Regions from separate parts of the Homo sapiens genome. Here regions 2, 3, 4 and 5 are each linked to region 1. Evidence: promoter capture Hi-C in 16 types of primary human blood cells and fetal thymus (Javierre and others, 2016). All regions are on one chromosome and are shown on one strand. The core of a region is centred on a gene start or on the middle of the fragment in contact, and the rest is flanking DNA. Distances in the headings are between cores, read along the strand shown.

What was found. Contacts are between HindIII fragments. The CHiCAGO score rates a contact against its expected background, and 5 or more counts as called.
Region 2: a fragment that was not itself captured here is called in contact with the fragment with the promoter of DUSP12 in region 1 in 1 of 17 cell types (erythroblasts); the score reaches 7.1 in erythroblasts.
Region 3: a fragment that was not itself captured here is called in contact with the fragment with the promoter of DUSP12 in region 1 in 1 of 17 cell types (neutrophils); the score reaches 5.6 in neutrophils.
Region 4: a fragment that was not itself captured here is called in contact with the fragment with the promoter of DUSP12 in region 1 in 3 of 17 cell types (total CD4 T cells, endothelial precursors and naive CD4 T cells); the score reaches 6.6 in total CD4 T cells.
Region 5: a contact is called between a fragment that was not itself captured here and the fragment with the promoter of DUSP12 in region 1, in 12 of 17 cell types (naive CD4 T cells, M0 macrophages, M1 macrophages and 9 more). The highest score is 15.2, in naive CD4 T cells.

What each region holds. Positions count from the first base shown.
Region 1 is chr1:161,748,500-161,751,067 of GRCh38, reverse strand. It overlaps DUSP12 (dual specificity phosphatase 12), which reads right to left and starts at 1,282. Exons shown (of 6, transcript NM_007240.3): 1 at 923-1,282. The coding sequence starts at 1,266. RefSeq lists enhancers at 266-912, 974-1,483. The HindIII fragment of the contact is 617 bases long and covers 887-1,503 here.
Region 2 is chr1:161,304,370-161,306,937 of GRCh38, reverse strand. It overlaps MPZ (myelin protein zero), which reads left to right. Exons shown (of 6, transcript NM_000530.8): 3 at 17-230; 4 at 474-609; 5 at 770-830; 6 at 961-2,203. The coding sequence ends at 1,062. Among named protein-coding and RNA genes, the nearest start is that of MPZ, 4.3 kb to the left of the region's middle. The HindIII fragment of the contact is 2,580 bases long and covers 1-2,540 here.
Region 3 is chr1:161,417,357-161,419,924 of GRCh38, reverse strand. It overlaps the pseudogene COMMD6P1. Among named protein-coding and RNA genes, the nearest start is that of TRE-TTC4-2, 3.5 kb to the left of the region's middle. The HindIII fragment of the contact is 3,388 bases long and covers 1-2,568 here.
Region 4 is chr1:162,045,018-162,047,585 of GRCh38, reverse strand. No RefSeq gene overlaps it. Among named protein-coding and RNA genes, the nearest start is that of OLFML2B, 22 kb to the right of the region's middle. The HindIII fragment of the contact is 3,967 bases long and covers 1-2,568 here.
Region 5 is chr1:162,026,824-162,029,391 of GRCh38, reverse strand. No RefSeq gene overlaps it. Among named protein-coding and RNA genes, the nearest start is that of OLFML2B, 4.2 kb to the right of the region's middle. The HindIII fragment of the contact is 3,406 bases long and covers 1-2,568 here.

The DNA.
Region 1 (2,568 bases), core at 33-2,532:
TTCAGGGACCTCAAAATCTGGTCCCAGACTTCTTTTGATTTCATCACTATCTTCTTTTATGTGCTCAATAAATTTAAACGATTATTATACTCCAATCCAACCAAGAACTGCTTAGGGATTCCCATTTTCTTTTTTTGGGGGGAGGGATGGAGTCTCGCTCTGTTGCCCAGGCTGGAGTGCTGTGGCATGACCTCGGCTCACTGCAACCTCCGCCTCCCAGGTTCAAGTGATTCTCCTGCCTCAGCCTCCCGAGTAGCTGGGACTACAGGCGAGAGCCACCACGCCCGGCTAATTTTTGTATTTTTGGTTTCACCATATTAGCCAGCCTGATCTCGAACTCCTCACCTTGTGATCCTCCTGCCTCCCAAAGTGCTGGGATTACAGGCGTGAGCCACCGCGCCCTGCGGGATTCCCATTTTCTTTTTGTCTTTGCTGCAACCATCTCCTCCCTAGGCAAAGCCCAGGGATCCTTTAGATCCAAACCAATTCATCTCTTCATCAACCACCCGCCACCCATCCCAAACAAAAACATTTAACCCTAAATCTTTGTAAATCCCGTTTACAAGACACCAAGCAACCTAATCTGCATTACAATAATCGGGGTGGGTGTCTAGCTTCTCCAACAGAGCTGTAAACTCCTTAGGGTGTAGGTAATTTGTCATTTATCAGATGACACCTCCCCCGCCCTCTGCTGCTGCAGGAAGAACCAACTAAAGCATGAATGAATGAAAGCCTGCACACACCAGGGGCCCGCCTCAACCCTCCTCCTCTCTTGGAAACACGCCTCCTGCGGGAGGCAGCGGGAGGAGGTTCACGCGGCATGACCGCGCTCTTGTCCTCCCGACGGCCTCGGAAGGTAAGGGGCGACGGGGGCCGGCTGGAAGCTTGGCGGGGCACGTCACCCACTGACCCGGCCACTCACCAGTGCACCAACACCGCACGGCCCTCAGCGCGGGCCTGACCGATGAAGGCCACGCACCGGTCCAGATGGCTGAGTAGGTCCGTCTCGGGTTTGTCCAGCGCTGGCACGAAGAGGCGCCATAGATCCTCGACCCCAGGCCCCGCCTTGAAGCTGGGCTCCTCCGAGTCCACTGTTAGCACGGCCGTGATGCCCGCTTCCCTCAGGTGATCTGGCTCCGCGACGGCCGCGGCCCCACCGAAATACAATCCTGGCTGCACTTCCAGCATCTGCCCGGCACAGCTGACTCTGCTGGCGCTGGGGTTGCTGAGCTCGCAGCCATCACTCGGGCCCGGAGCCTCCAACATGGCCGCGCCCAGAGACAAGGCGGCTTCCTGCCCTACCATCGAGTAGACTCCGGCTAGAACATCCTTCCCCTGGGACTCGCCAGCCTCGGCGGCTCTGCTGCTCCCTCGGAGGACCACGTCGGCCGCAGGAATCTGGACTTATCGCTGAGGGGCGGAGCTTCGGCCCCATTCAGCGCGGCCTTTCCACCCTTGTTCCCTCTGACCCCTACCCCCAAAGTTGATGGTGAAGGATAAGCTTCCCCAAATACAGGGTTTCTCGAGCTCTTAGTATTGAAATTTTCAGGAAAGAGACATCAGGAGCAGCTGAACTCAAATGTGAAATAAATGTCGCACCAGCTGAATCAGAAGCATCATTTTATGCATTTGAAGTAAAATTTTTTTCAATATTATGGAGCCATCTTTACTGTGCATTTCATGATTATTTTTCCTTTTTCTGCCCAATTTCATTATTGGGGTGTGAATCCTTGTTGATGTTTACTGTCTATTTATTTTGAAGATACTAATCCTATATTTTTGTAAGTCAATGTCCTCCGGCCAGGACTACAAGAAACCAACTTTAATTAAGCAAGTTGGTTTTATTACTCAGTCATGAGTTATGGAGAATTTCAGGGCATCTCAGCACGAGGATGTTAGGAAGATCCTCTACAGATTTTGGGCTTTTATTTGGGGATTTTGGAAAGGGTTGAAGGAAGCAGGCTTTGCTCCAGACTGAATGCTGCAGGAAGATACTCAGTACAGTGAGTATATTTTATATATCTTTTGTATAGGGAGGACAGGTGAGAGAGATACTAAAGCTGTAATTGGTCAAGAAGTAGCAGCTATAGTACTGGTATAAAGATAGATACATCGACGTGTCTCTATTCTGGAACAGAACAAACCCTTGCGTGTGGAGTCCTAATTAGGGAAAAGGAGTCAGGCTGGCTGGACGAAGGGAAGCAAAAGGAGAAAGCAGACAAGCCATAAGTCTGCCTTTCTTCGTGGTCCAGGACACATAGCCCTGCTGTGCAAATAACTCACAATCTGCCTGTGCCCAGCCATCACCAGACCCTCAGCTGATAGAAAAATGGAAGTTAGTTCACTGCAACCCTGGCATTATTAGTACTGCACAAAGCCCTCTTCCACCCACAACATAAGCACCATTCTACAAAATCCCCAGCAAGCCTTTGTTTCCTAGCAGTCAGCTTCTCTCTTGCTGACCTGCCTGTTGCACCCTTGCAATGTATTTTCATACTTTATCTAATAAACCTGCCTTTCTTTACCTACAACTGTGTTGGTAAATTCTTCCTACCACCCATGTCACCA
Region 2 (2,568 bases), core at 1-2,500, 440 kb after region 1:
CCCTCATTCCTCATAGATCTTCCACTATGCCAAGGGACAACCCTACATTGACGAGGTGGGGACCTTCAAAGAGCGCATCCAGTGGGTAGGGGACCCTCGCTGGAAGGATGGCTCCATTGTCATACACAACCTAGACTACAGTGACAATGGCACGTTCACTTGTGACGTCAAAAACCCTCCAGACATAGTGGGCAAGACCTCTCAGGTCACGCTGTATGTCTTTGAAAAAGGTGTGAGAAGGGATGGGGACAAGGGTATGGGAAGCAGTTTGGGAGGGGATCAGGGAGGACTGATAGGTTGGGGGAAGAGGCAAAAAGCCCGGCCTAAGGACCTTTATTCAGGCTCTGGGAGCGTGGGCAGAAGGCAGTTTTAGCTGGGAGTCCTACATCCTCAATGCAGGGCATACACTCGGACTAGGAACCACAGATACAGGGCCCTGCTCATTCTCCCACTTCTTTTCCCACCCCTCCTAGTGCCAACTAGGTACGGGGTCGTTCTGGGAGCTGTGATCGGGGGTGTCCTCGGGGTGGTGCTGTTGCTGCTGCTGCTTTTCTACGTGGTTCGGTACTGCTGGCTACGCAGGCAGGCGGCCCTGCAGAGGAGGCTCAGGTAAGGGGCGGAGCCTAGCTCCCCTCCCCCTCTCCCCACTATCCCCCATCTGGGCGGAGACTACTCCAGTGGGTGGGAGGGCCAAGGGGAAGAGGAAGCTGTGTCCGCGGTGCAAGGGGTTCCGGCGAGGCCAAACGTACAGCAGTCTCTCTTCTTGCAGTGCTATGGAGAAGGGGAAATTGCACAAGCCAGGAAAGGACGCGTCGAAGCGCGGGCGGCAGGTTAGCGGGACTTGGGGCCTAGACAAGATGGGAAGGAGAACCCTGGGAGCCGCCGGGCAGCAGTGAGGGGTGGGATGGGAACAGTCAAGCCCCAGTCGCTCGGTGACTGATGTGTGCGCCCCTCCCCCAGACGCCAGTGCTGTATGCAATGCTGGACCACAGCAGAAGCACCAAAGCTGTCAGTGAGAAGAAGGCCAAGGGGCTGGGGGAGTCTCGCAAGGATAAGAAATAGCGGTTAGCGGGCCGGGCGGGGGATCGGGGGTTAGGGGTGGAGTCCGCCAAAGGCCCAAAGGTGATGGTCATCGAGATGGAGCTACGAAAGGATGAGCAGAGCCCGGAGCTCCGGCCTGCTGTCAAGTCCCCCAGCAGAACCAGCCTCAAAAACGCCCTCAAGAACATGATGGGCCTGAACTCGGACAAGTGATCGCCACCCCCCCACCCCAGGCCCTGCCAGAGCAGGGGGACCTAGGCTCCTCTTACCCCCGTCTAGGTGCTTTCCCTCTTTGCTCCCCCGCCCTGCCCTGCCCTCACCTCCCTTTGAGATGTAAGTTTCATTCCAGAATTCATTCCCCAGGCAATTGTATTCTCCCCCACCTTCACCCCTGGCTTTCTGGGAGCCCAGGAGCTAATCCTACCCCTCACCTGCCCCGGGGGCTGTGTGTTTGGTGCCTGTCCACCTGAGCACTGAGAAGAAAGGGACTTTGATACCCTCTGCCTCAAGTCCAGGCCACCTGGCATTCCCATCTCCTGCATCCCCCAGCCTGTCCCCCTGGCTGTTTCCTCTCCCGTCCCTCCCTCCCCTCTACCAGGTGGCCCAGCTCCATACTCTGTCCCCCCAGCTAATACCCAGAGCACCCAGATCAGACTCTCCTTCAGGGTTTATTTAGGTTATTATTTTTTATTTTTTAATCCATTCTTTGTTTGTTTACCTGTGCTCATCCTCTGCCCTTACACCCATGACTGAGGACCAATGACGTCATGTGGCTTTTGCAATTCACGCCCCCCTTAAGTCCTTAATGAAGAGCCAGCCCAAGTAGAGGGGCCCCTGATCCTCACACTTCAGTATAGCATTGGTTCCCCCTGACCACTTTGGAGCACTGTTCTGGGACTCCAGGTCTTGAGGAGAGAGACAGAGAGAGAGAATGGATCCTCATAGGTCAGGGAGTGGGGGAGGGGGCAAATGAGCCTTAAGAAATGGTTTTTAAACAACCAAACAAAAAGCAGGAAAAACAAATGGGAAATGGGGGGGCGGGGGGGAGGAAGAGGCTGCACTGCAGCCACAGGGGATTCTTAGGATTTTTCTACATTCTGTATATTTCTTCTCAAACCTCCAAATGTCCTTAAATGTTTAATAAACACTGACATTTCCAGAAGCTGCTGCCTTGTCTAGAATTTCCTAGTCCTCCTGGGAATAATTCCTGCCCCTTATCCCATCCCCAACCTTCCATACTTGGCTTCAGTTGTTTAGTTTGTTTTTTTGGGGTGGGCTTATATAGTATACTAGAAAGAACTCTGAAATAGCCTCACAAGACACATTCATACCTTCAGCAAATAATCAGTGAGATTATACTACGTTGTAAACTCTGCCAGTCTCTGCTTTTACATGAGTTAAAACGCAGAATCTGTCTTCACCAAGATCTGAATTTTAAAACATCCCAGCCACTCTCTAGCTGTGTGATCCCCAGGACAGTTACCTGACTTTGGTAAGCTTGTTTATGTACTTGTAAACAACTGAGAT
Region 3 (2,568 bases), core at 35-2,534, 330 kb after region 1:
TTGCCATGGTCTCACTCCCCGCCTTCCTCAATCCAGAATCTGAGCAGGAAACGAATCTGGTCAAAGCACGTGGTTGGATTTTCGTGACCCAGTGCTTCCAAAAGGCCAAACCTCACCTCTGCTCCACCTGCCCCCACTCTTGGATCCAGCAGCCTCACACTTCCCAGGCCTCTGCCCTGACATCTGCCTCCCTAGAAGGATGAAGAGCAGTAGCGCCTGGAATTCCAACCATCTGCCACAGTCTTGCATGGCACAGGTGAGTTTTGTGGGAGATGGGGTGGGGTGGAGAGTAGACAACGTTTCTGGCATTTTCACAAATGGCCACTCTGATGCTGGCCTCTCGCTCTGTCCTGCCAGCAAAGGGTCAGACTAGGTGGTGGCCTGGGAGCAAATGGGGCATGAGCAATCAATGCTTCCTACCTATCTGGGCCCAGTGTAAAAGTGGGCAGTTAGAGGAGATGTTGTTGACTTTAGATTCATCTCCTTCCTCATTAGCATAGTTGGTGAGTATTCCCTTCTGTCCTGACAGATCTGGATTTGATCCCCCTGCCATTTAACTAATTTGTTACCACTTCACTTTTGTTTATACATTTTATTTCCTGGCTTACAATTAACCAATTCGTTACCATATAGATATATGGTTTTTATTTTACAAAAAAATCTAAACGGATTATGAGTTTACAAGCTCAGTAAAGTATTGGCTGGCTCTGGACTTCCCTAATAAGCCACATTAAACACCTGGTGACAGCTGCCAATGCAAAGGTCAAGGGCTGCTAATACCGGACTGCCTAGAACTCCATGATTTTAACTACTTTCAGGATTTCAAAGTGGGGGAAAGTTTTATTAATTACTAATACTATGACTGTGCTAATCCACCCATTCTAGATTTAGAATATTCCTGAGAGACTGCATGTTTCCGTGGCAAAATTAAACGTACTCAGGAGGCCAAGGCAGGAGGATCGCTTGACCCCAGGAGTTTGAGAGCAGACTGGGTAGCATAGCATAACATCTCTTAAAAAAAGAAAAAGAAGAAGAAATAGAGAAAAAATTAAACACAAGTATACATTAGTGATTCTCAACATGGGTGGGCCTAGTCCCCTTAAGGAGCATTTCAGAATTCCTCAGTGGACATCAGCCTTCGCGCAGCCTCCCTACCCATCAGGTGCTGATGAGGTTAGCAACCAGATGTTTGGCCTCCCCATTTGCTTCCCTTGAGAATTGTGGCTAGCGATATTAGGAGCTCACTACCATTCTTAATTTACCCCTTTGAGTAAACGATCAACATTTTTCTTTTAAACATGTATTTCAGGCCGGGTGCAGTGGCTCATGCCTGTAATCCCAGCACTTTGGGAGGCTGAGGCAGGCAGATCACTTGAGGTCAGGAGTTCCAGACCAGCTTGGCCAACATGGTGAAACCCCATCTCCACTAAAAATACAAAAATTAGCCAGGCATGGTGGTGCATGCCTGTAATCCCAGCTACTTGGGAGGCTGAGGCAGGAAAATCACTTGAACCCGGGAGGCAGAGGTTGCAGTTAGCTGAGATCATGCCACTGCACCCCAGCCTGGGTGACAGAGCAAGACTCTGCCTCAAAAAATAAACAAATAAATAAATAAATATATATATATATATATGTATGTATGTATGTATGTATTTCAGAAAGAAGAAATGATACTGGACTACAGAAGCATTACTGAGATGCTGTGGTCATCAGGCCAAGGGTCGTGGATGGGAATCTGTGGGGAGGCATTCCCCCATGCCCACAGTCCCCTCACTCTTTAGCCAGAGTATTGTTAGGTTTGGTTCTTGACCAAGGTCTCAGGCTCAACTCGTGTGTGTGCTTCAATATGGGTTGGTTCCTTCCTCCCTTCCTTCCTTCCTACCTCCCTCCCTCCCTTCTCTTTCTTTCTGTATTGAGGCCAGAGTCTCACTCATTGCCCAGGCTGGAGTGCAATGGTGTGATCTCGGCTCACTGCAACCTGCGCCTCCCGGGTTCAAGCGATTCTTCTGCCTGAGCCTCCAGAGTAGCTGGGATTACAGGCACCCACCACCACGCCCGGCTAATTTTGTATTTTAGTAGAGACAGGGTTTCACCATGTTGGTCAGGTTGGTCTCAAACTCCTGACCTCAGCTGATTCACTCGCCTCAGCCTCCCAAAGTGCTGGGATTACAGGTGTGAGTCACAGTGCCCAGCCTATTGATCTGTCTTTGAATTCACTAATCTTGTCTCCTGCTGTGTCCAATTTGCTGTTAAACCCATTCAGAGGGTTCTGTTCTAGAAGTTTTTGTCTCTATTCCAATTCTCTGTTGAAATTCTTCTCATCTACTTTCCATCTTTTCCTCTATTTTTTAAAAATAAAATTGTGATTATTTTAAAGTTCTTGCCTGTGAACTTAAACAATTGGCTTATATTTGTTTCTGCTTCTACTGTTTTCTTTTTTCTCTTGACCATTGGTCACATTTTCCTTTCTCTTCACATGTCTCCTAATTTTTATTGTATGCTGAACATTATGTAAAAAATAACTAGAGGCCAGGCTGGTGGCTCACACCTGTAATCCCAGCACTTTGG
Region 4 (2,568 bases), core at 51-2,550, 300 kb before region 1:
ACATTTAACTAGAAAACTGTTAAAAATGTTTGCCCACTTATCACCTAAGATTATCGGATATATCACCAGTAGTATGCATATCACCTTGGGAAACACTCATGGGAAAAGCACTGTAACTGCAGCCAAAATACCTAAATTCAAATTATGGTTCTGCTGTTTAGTAGTTATGCCACCTCGAAACATTAGTTCACATTTCTGAGCTTCTGTTTCATTTTTAAAAGGAAGAGCAATAAAAAGGATATTTGGGGATCATCTGGAACACCAACATATAATCAAATATTGCCACATATTTCAAGGTTTGTGTCTGCATTTGCATCTTCATATAAGCCCAGTGGAGTTCAATGAAGTCACAGGGAATAGAGTCTTCTTAGTAGTTCAGACAGAGAAAAATGGGGGCAGAACTGAATCATGCCAAGGCATTCAATAGCACACGCAGCTGAATTCAAAATAATCTGCACTTAAGGCATCAACACTATATTCAGGAGTTTCAATTCCTTAAAAAAATATGAATAATGCATTTATGCCAAGAGAAGACTCAATGATGTTGCAGCATAAATTATCATTGCAGAAGAAAAGTTTTGTCCTTAAACTATTAAAAGAATTTAACATGACCACAATAACAGTCATGGGTCAATTGCCACTTTGACATTAGGATATATCAAACTTTATTATCAATACATTAAAAATCAAGCACTGTCACTTAGGGATCACTGGGTGACAACATAATCATAAATGCACATGTAAATGAGCACTTTTAAATCTCACTGAAGTATTCTATATGTTCTAGAATACCTTACATCTGACTTTTAGAATATTTTCAAAATGAAAATATAAGATTAAAAAATTCTGATTGGAAGATTTAAATATCAAATTTTTTCCTTATTATGACATCAGTACTATCATAATGTCAGATTTACCCTCATCTTACTCTTACACAATTACCTACATAAAAGATGTTTTGTAAGACATTTACATATGAAGATATGTGATTGATACAGTCACCATACCATACAGTTAAGTTGTAGGCTAAATATGTGACCAAGAAAAAGAAAATTAACACAGGCCAGGAACAGTGGCTCACGCCTGTAATCCCAGTACTTTGGGAGGCCGAGGCAGGTGGATCACGAGGTCAAGAAATTGAGACCATCCTGGCCAACATGGTGAAACCCCATCTCTACTAAAAATACAAAAATTAGCTGGGCGTGGTGGTGTGCATCTGTAGTCCCAGCTACTCAAGAGGCTGAGGCAGGAGAATTGCTTGAACTTGGGAGGCGGAGGTTGCAGTGAGCCGAGATCGCACCACTTCACTCCAGCCTGGCGACACAGCAAGACTCCATCTCAAATTAAAAAAAAGAAAATTAACACAAAAAATTACAACTCGTAACTAGATATGAAATATTTAAGACATTTGTCAAAGGCAGGCAATCTTCATCTTTATGTTGGTAGGAGTTTTCTGGTTCATTCTTGGCCCTCAAAAGATGCATGAGTGTAGTCCTAGAATGGGAAGTATCTCCCATTCATACAGTTGTGATTAATGAAAATTTGGGCTTATTCACCCAGGCCTTGTGTAGACCTACTCCATTGATTAGAATACTTTTAGCAGCAAAAACAGATAATCCTCATTCATTTTGGCCTTCACAAAAAAAGGCATGTATTTTTCCCTATAATAAGATGTTTGGAGGTTGGGAATTTCCATGTATCATGCACCAGGTCCAACTCTTCTTCTTTGTGGTTCTCCTGGTAGCAAGATGGCTGCAGCCATTCAAATTCTAAACATGGCACTCAAACACAAAAATACTCAGAGATAGGAAAGGGATTGCTTCTCCTAGGCATATTTCTTATTTTATTATTATTATTATTATTTTTGAGATGGAGTTTCACTCTTGTTGCCCAGGCTGGAGTGCAATGGCTTGATCTCAGCTCACTGCAACGTCTGCCTCTCAGGTTCAACAGATTCTCCTGCCTCAGCCCCCCTAAGTGTCTGGGATTACAGGTGCCTGCCACCACATCCGGGTAATTTTTGTGTGTGTGTATTTTTGGTAGAGATGGGGTTTTACCATGTTGGCCAGGCTGGTCTCGAACTCCTGACCTCGGGTGATCTGCCAACATCAGGTGATCTGCCTACCTCAGCCTCCCAAAGTGCTGGGATTACAGGCGTGAGCCACCACACCGGGCCCCCTAACGTGTATTCGTTAGAGGCAAGAAAAACTTTTCCCAGAAAAATCTCAGTCATGTCCACCACATTTCATTGGCCAATAATTGGCCAAAAATGCTCACCTCTAAATAAGTGACTGGCAAGAAAATGGGACCAACACCAGCAGTTTAAGCCAACTATGACTTAATTCTGAGCAGGATTTTGGGTTACCATCCAATGAATCACTGAGACAGAGGTGGATCACTGTGAGCAAGAAAAAAGAAGAAAATGGATACTAGATGGGCATAAATAAACAAATCATGCCTTCCACTCACCAACTGGGCATTTTAACTAGTTAGCCAAGTTAAAATTGATAGAGATTTAACTATATTGTTTTTCATACCTGAGGAGGTTGTCTACTCTCTAATAATCAA
Region 5 (2,568 bases), core at 27-2,526, 280 kb before region 1:
CAGCTCCCACTCTGCAGCGAGCCAGGGAAAGGAGATGGCAGAATGATGTTGCTCGTGGGACTTTGCCTTGCTCTTTGATTCTGCTGCCGTGGGGCAGGTGCATTTTCTCAATTACACACAAAGGTGGCAGGCCATTTCTAGCCACCTTGGCCCCACCTGGCAAATGAAGCCTTAATTTTCAACAGACAGACATTTCAGAGCAAAGTCAGGAGGCTCCTAGGTAAACGGGAAAACAGATGCTCTTGCCAGATGCAAACTGGCTCGTGAGGGATGGTGGTTGTGGTTGCTGAGGGATCCCCAGAATTCAACAACCTGCTAGCCAGCCACAACTGGTGAGGTCCAGGGTCTAAGATAGATGAAGTGGCACACTTACGGCTTTCTGAGACCCAGTTCTTGGAACATTTCCACAGTCTGTCCGTCTCTAAACCTGTTTCCTCATTTGTAAGAGGAAATGATACTGACTCAGGGGATTTCTGACCGTCAAATGATGCCTGGCACATGGGAAGCACTCAGTACAGAGTCGCCATCATACATATCACTGTGTTGGTGCTTCAATGACTTCATCTGTTAACCAGGGAGGGCAAGACTTATTTTACACCATGATGCGAGGATCCAGTGACGTGGAATTCATAGGCTCTGAGCAAAAGATGCAGGGATTTTTATGTGAATTTTATGCCGGTTTCCTCTATCCTGTGCTTTCCAGCTATGTTTTTTTTTTTTTTAACACAAGTAAAAAGCACTTAACCCAATTTGCTAAAGCCAAACCAAGCTCATCACAGAATCATCAGTTCAGGTTGCCAGGCAGGCAGGTAGAAGCAATGCCATGAGCAGTGTATCTTGATTTCTGAAAGACAGTGATAAAAGTCTCTCAAGAAATGCTTGTAGACATGATGAAGACATGTGGACTAGGCACCAACACCCATGACTGCCTGAACAGTCATACACCAAAACGGTTAACATCAATAAGGAGAGACTTTTCCTATTATGGAGGTAGAGCTCTAGAATATGGCCCTATCTGAAGGAAGATGGCTTTTTAAAATTAATCATTTGAACTAAGACAGAAACTATGCTTAGTGAATTTGGAAATTATGCAAAACCAGGACAAAAGCAAAAATAGCAATATTTCAACAGGATGAAAAAATGGACCAAAATCATCACACTGTTACAGTAAAAATGTAAACACCTATACTTGGATTAAAAAAAAAGAGAGAACATAGCTGGAAAGCACAGAATGGAGGAAACCAGTAAAAAATTCACACAAAAATAAATTTAAAAACTACACTTAAAAGATAAATCAGTGTGAGTCGTTGGTGCAATCTGGCTGCCAAAACTAAGGTAATCTTAGGCTGCATTAATAAAAGCACAGTGCCCAGAAAAAAAAAGAACAAATTGTTTCAATAGGTTCTAATATCTACTCAAACTGGAGTCTTTCTAGAGAGAAAATAACCAAAATAATGAAGAGTTTGGAAGGCCATGTGGTTTGAGAAACAGTTGAATATAATGGAGATAAAAGATGAAGAAAGTGGGCTAGTGATGTTGAGAAAGAGGATATTTAGAAGGTACTTAACCTTTTTTTTTTTTTTTTTTTTTTTGACAGAGTCTTTCTCTGTTGCCCAGGCTGGAGTGCATTGGTGTGATCTCGGCTCACTGCAACCTCTGCCTCCCCGGTTCAAGTGATTCTTCTGCCTTATCTTTCCAAGTAACTGGGATTACAGGCGTGTGCCACCAGGCCCAGCTAATTTTTGTATTTTTAACAGAGACAGGGTTTTGCCATGTTGGCCAGGCTAGTCTTGAACTCCTGACCTCAAGTAATCCACTTGCCTCGGCCTCCCAAAGTGTTGGGATTGCAGGCGTGAGCCACCATGCCCGGCCAGTACTTAACTATTTATCTTTAAGTGAAAGGAATGAAACTCTCCGTGAGAAAGTCCTTAGACATATTCTGTGTAGGACTGTAGGACTGGACATTAAAAGGTGACTTTAAAAGTAGACCCTAAAGGAAATATATTTTAGTTAGATAAGAGAAAGGACTCATGGTCATAAGATGGCTGCCACAGCTCCTGGCACTTTTGAAACAGCCCCTATAAACTTTATAAAATTAACCAGGGAAGAAGGAAAGGGAAGAAATGAAAATAAACCAAGTTCACAGCACATTCAGCAGTAATCGTGAGGTCTACTTGCTCTCTGACCTGTTTCCTCATAGTTACTCTGTGCCTATTGCCTCAGAATCACATAGATCCTGTTAAAAGATTATAAAGCCCCTTAACTGTTCTATAGAAAACAACTTGAACATTATGAAACATTATGTTTTCCCTTTGAGATACTCTTTTGGGTCCTGCATACTGATGAAGCTACTGACTCAGCTAGTTTGAAGGACCCCATGAGATCCTGACTCACCAAAGAAGGCAGTTTCCACATCCTGATGATAGAACTTTGTTCCATCGTCTTGGCCCAACCAATTAATAACCTCAATTTTTTAGCCACTCACTCTCCACAATCCCCTTAAATTAAAACGCCAGCCCAGAGCTCCTTGGAGAGATGGATTCAAGGGTCTCCTCCCATCTCCTGACG